2 separate regions of the Homo sapiens genome follow, and region 2 is linked to region 1. The links are contacts of gene promoters, found by promoter capture Hi-C in blood cells and fetal thymus (Javierre and others, 2016). All regions are on one chromosome and are shown on one strand. Each heading gives the region's core, a stretch centred on a gene start or on the middle of the fragment in contact. The rest is flanking DNA. Distances are from core to core; before and after follow the strand shown.

Region 1 (2,630 bases), core at 77-2,576:
CGAGTTCAAAATAAAAAGCAAACCAATAAACAGAAACCAACATAAACAGAAGTTACTACCATCTCCCTCAGCCTGTGAAATTCTGGAACTTCTCTTTCTTTCTCGCCTTCTTCTTCTCTCACCTGGAAGACGAGCAGAGTGAACACATCAGGGGTTGTCAGTTCCCCAGATGGCACCACATTCATAAACCACCGACTCCAGGAGAATGTAGGAAGCTTAGTTAAGGCCAAAGTTCTCTTTGGATCTTCCTCATGGGCTTCAAGGCAAAAGAAAAAAAAGTTTGCTTGAGAATATCTTCATATCTATTAGTTTGAACCATGCAAAATTACAGTTTTTATAGGTAAAATGAGTGCATATTGGCAATTTCAAATGATTAACCCTAATACATTATGCTTTTGGGTATAGAAATATTCAGATCTTAAACATATGCTGTTACATACAAAATCAGGTATATTCCTGCTTCTATAATTAAAGCAAAGAGAATTTCTTTTGGTCACTACTCCTTCTGACATGAGGTATGAACCAAGTTCAGGACCCCTAAAGGTCTGGGTCTGGGTCATTTCTCCACCTCTAACTTGTGCCGCTTTCTTGGTCAGTCATTGTGTTCTGAGCTGTCTCATAAAACATCTGCTATGACTTTACTTTCTCCTGATAGGGTGGCTTTCCATCGTTGGCACTTCGTTGGCCTTATTGGTATGCTTTATACACTGGTTCTCGTTTCCAAATTGGCATTATTATTGTTATGATTCCTGCTGCTCTCCCACATTTCCCATCTTTCTCCTGATCTCTCTCACCTGTACATTTCTTACATTTTCTCCTGTGCTTCCTTCTTCCCATCATCATTGCCCAAGTGTGTCTTCTTTCTTCTCCTTGTCACATTTCCTTTGCCCGCTCTCACATATGCAGAGATGGCTCTTGGTTTTCCTTCTGAAATCTCATAGTTTGGAGGTAAACTTGTTAGCAAGGCCACTGAGAAGAGAACAAAAGGGAAACATAAGAGAAACCAAGTCACTATCTCTCTCATTTCCTGGTTTCTAGAAGTAAGACCCAAAGAACTCACTGTTTCAGTGCTTTCAGCTCAGGCCAAACTAGGGTGATCAAACTGAGCTTCTGAGTGCTGATCAAAACCTATAAAACCAAGTAGACAGACCATCTACAAATCTTCACTGTTAAATACCATAAAGAATGAAAAGGTCACTAATTGGTAAGACTATATGTGTGATAATTAAATTTATGCATCAACCTGGCTAGGCTAAAGGATGACCAGGTAGCTGGTAAAACATTATTCTGGGTGTGTCCATAAGAGTGTTTTCGGAAGAGATCAGCATTTGAATTGGTGAACTTAGTAAAGCAGACGGCTCTCACCAATAAGGGCAGGCATCATCCAATCTGTCGAAAGCTTGAATAAAACAAAAAGAGGAAGGGAAAATTTGCTTCTTTTCTTCTTGATCTAGTATATCATCTTCTCCTGCCCTTGGATGTGAGTGGGCCTTCAGACTTAAACCAGGAGTTACACCTTTGGCTTCCCTGGTTCTCAGTTCTTTGGACTTGGACTGAATTACACTGCCAGGTTTCCTGGTTCTCCAGCTTGCAGATGGCAGATCATGGGACTTCTTGGCCTCCATAATTGTGTGAGTCAATTTCCATTTTATTTACATATCCAGTTATGCATTGCTTAACAATGGAGACAGGTTCTGAGAAATGCATTGTTAAGTGATTTCATCATTGTGCAAACATCATAGAGTGTAACTACACAAACCTGGACAGCATAGACTACTACACATCTAGGCTACATGGTGTAGCTTGTAACCTCATGATAAGTATGTATAACATCATGATAAGTATGTATGTATCTACCATATCTAAATGTAGAAAAGGTACAGTAAAAATATGGTATAATCTTATGGGATCACCATCATATATGCAATCCTTTGTAGACTGAAATGTCATTGTGTAGTGCATGACTGTATACGCACACATACACAAACACACACAAATATACTATTGGTTCTTTTTCTCTGAAGAGCCCTAATACAATATGTTATACATTTATATTGACTCTATTTCAAAATTTATGGTTTTGGTGAAACATATGTGGAGATGGGGCATAGGTGTGTGAACTGGGATAGTGTCCTGCTGATGAATGGGTGGGAGGCATCATTTGGGACAAGCCCAGGGCATCAGCTTATAGATATCAAGAGCTCAACAAGAGCACTTTATGGCAAAACCTCCCACAAGACCTCTCAGAAGTTGAGAAACTGCTAAAAGTTTCTTTATGACAGATGACATTTATGGATAAAATAGGGATTAGCAGGATTCTTTAAATACTTTCGAACACTAACCTTCATTTCTACCAGGCAGTGGGGCCCCAAGTGCAGGGCCATAGGAAGTACAAGTCTGGGAGATACTAGGCTGCACTGTCTGTAGAGAATCTGAAAAAATAATAGAGTCACTGAAATGCAGTTTGGTATAATTATTGCCATGCATCATAATTCTAAATCATACTAGTGGTCAAATACTCTTCCCTGAAAAAACATTTTCTTGGTTTGAATTCTAAATAATTGTTGTGGTCACCACTGAGCTTTTAAATATATAAATACTTTCAAGTTTGCATATTTTTATTACCTGTT
Region 2 (2,630 bases), core at 55-2,554, 310 kb before region 1:
GGTCAAGGAAAATATGATGTTTTATTGAAGACTTTAACAGTAGATAAAGGAATAGAGTTTTTCTAATCATCTAAAGGCTGTTAATAGTGTTGACAATAACAAGTTTTAAATTCTGATTTTTCACTACTACTAAAGATAGATACACCAGATTCTCATTTATTAAATTCATGACCAAATCCAGAATTTGTAGGCTTTCCCTAATCTGGATCCATCTTTCCAATTCTATGTCATCTCCCACTAGTTTCTAGCACACGGGCTACACACTCACTGGCCCACTTACCCTCTATTCTGCCCCCCCCTCCTCAATAGAGAGCCAGGCTACCTCATAAGCATTACTTATACTGTTTTCCTGCTCTCCCTCTTCTCCTCCTCCCACTAACTATTTCCTCTCCACTTTTCATAAACTTACTTTTAATAATACAGCCATCACAGCTTTCTTTTGGTTAGTTTTTGCATGATAGAATTTTCCATCTTTTTATATTCAACCTCTTCAGTATATGTTAGGTATTTTTCTTATAAACAACATACAGTTAGTTCTTGTTTGTTTTTATTTTAATCTAGTCTGACAGTATTGGTCTTTTAGTTGCATTAAGGATTTAGCCCATTTACTTTAATATAATTATTATTAATGCACTTAGGTCTATGACTTTGCTATTTGCTTTTTATCTATACTATCTGTCTATATTATTTTTTCTTTCTTTTTTTATGATTCCATTTTTTACCTTCTATTAACTTGGTAGCTATACATTATTTTATTTCATTTTATTGTTACCTTAGAGATTATTACACTCATTTGTTTTAGACACATGGCTTATTGAAGTCTAAAATAAATACCATAGAACCAGTTCCATTAATATGCTAAGCCACTTTTATATTACTTTGGTTTTTTTCTGAATTTCCTGTTCTGTTCTATTTATTTATTTTTGTACCAGTATTCCATTGTTTTTAATTACTATAGCTTTATATTATATTATGTTTTATATATACAGTCAGCAAAAGCTTCTTTCTTTCACACAGGCCCATGATGCCTGGGCTTGTCTGTTTGGTTTTTCGGGGCTAGCCTAGCATAATTAGTTTTATCATATAGACTTTAAAACCTTTGTCTTGACAGCCAGATCTACCTCCCCCAGCCAGATCTACCTCCCCAAAAAAGAAAATCATTGTGATTTTGATTAGGATTGCAATAATTTTAGAAACAAATTTAAGGAGAACACATATCTTTATAATGTTGAGCTCTTTTAGCTAGAAACATCTTAGATCTCTCAGTGAAACTGCATGTATTTTCATATAAATAGTGCATGTTTCTTAATAAATTTATTTCAGTATATTTTATATCTAATAAATGAAATAGTTCCTTTAATTATATTTTCTAATTGGTTATTTTTATATAAAAATGATTGAATTTTTTCCATTATTAATCTTGTAAAAATAATCTTACTTATTTCTGATTATTTCTGATATACTTTATGAGTTGATCCATTTGGCTTTTGAAGATATGGAATTGTATGGTTTTCCAGCAGTGAGAAATGTGCTAACTTCTTTCCAATATTTATAGTACTTACTCTGTTCCTTCGAATAATAGCACATTAACTTGAGTGGGAATGAATCTCAAGCTTCAATTTTAGGCTTCAGCCTTAATTTACATAAACTAACCATTTATCATAATACCGATCCCCTCACCAAAGTGATTGGTTCAAGGATAAGTAGCACAGACCCAGACTCAGTGTGGTATGGCATGCCATCATAGTGATTTGTTGGGGGATTAGACATAAGATTCAAGAGCTTTCAAGGTTTTCAGAAGAGGAGCTCTTTCTTCTGCTGGACTGTAAGGTGTAAACACATGAAAGGCCTGGAATCAAACCTCTGTGGCCATTTTGCTGCCACGAGAGAAGCTGCACAACACACCAGGAAATGAAAGCTGAAATAATAGAGAGAAATCAAGTCACAACACACAAACCATGCCTGGACTAGATCTGTCCTAGAACTTTATAAAAGCAAACATATCTCACTTCATTTTTTAAACCCTTGTGCATTATTTGCAACCCAAATTATCCTAATGGATACACCAGCTTATTACTATATTCAAGAAACATGCCTAAAACCAAATGACAAAGGAAGTTTTAAAATAAAGGCACATGGAAAATTACACCACGTAAATATATGCAAACAGAAAGCAGAAATGTCAAAATCAAAATCAGATAAGAATTCAAGATCAATATCATTAAGCAGGAAAAAGAGGCATATTATGAAATCTAAAAATATAATTCATGAATTCTTGTAGACCAAAATCTACAGCAGTAAAATACATGAAACAAAACTGTAACAAAGACACGTATAACCTTTAAAAAAATCACAGTCATGATGGGGAATTTTATATCAGAATTTAAGTTTTTTAATTTGTCTTAATTATTGTTTTATTAAAACTTAATTCCTTTTATGGAGACGGGGTCTCACTATGTTGCCCAAGCTGGTCTTAAACTCCTGAGCTCAAGCAGTCCTCTCCTCTTGGCCTCCCAAAGTGCTAGGATTATAAGTGTGAGTCATTGCACCCAGCCTGGGAATTTTATATCACAATTTAGTAAGTCAAATAGATAAAAATAAATAAGGATATAGAGAACATAAGTAATACA

What was found. Contacts are between HindIII fragments. The CHiCAGO score rates a contact against its expected background, and 5 or more counts as called.
Region 2: a contact is called between a fragment that was not itself captured here and the fragment with the promoter of CLLU1 in region 1, in 1 of 17 cell types (naive B cells). The highest score is 5.9, in naive B cells.

What each region holds. Positions count from the first base shown.
Region 1 is chr12:92,420,205-92,422,834 of GRCh38, forward strand. It overlaps CLLU1 (chronic lymphocytic leukemia up-regulated 1), which reads left to right and starts at 1,327. Exons shown (of 2, transcript NR_027933.1): 1 at 1,327-1,631. It overlaps CLLU1-AS1 (CLLU1 antisense RNA 1), which reads right to left. Exons shown (of 3, transcript NR_144319.2): 2 at 810-969; 3 at 1-256. The HindIII fragment of the contact is 1,184 bases long and covers 214-1,397 here.
Region 2 is chr12:92,113,203-92,115,832 of GRCh38, forward strand. All of the region lies in intron 1 of LINC01619 (long intergenic non-protein coding RNA 1619), which reads right to left. Among named protein-coding and RNA genes, the nearest start is that of LINC01619, 28 kb to the right of the region's middle. The HindIII fragment of the contact is 614 bases long and covers 998-1,611 here.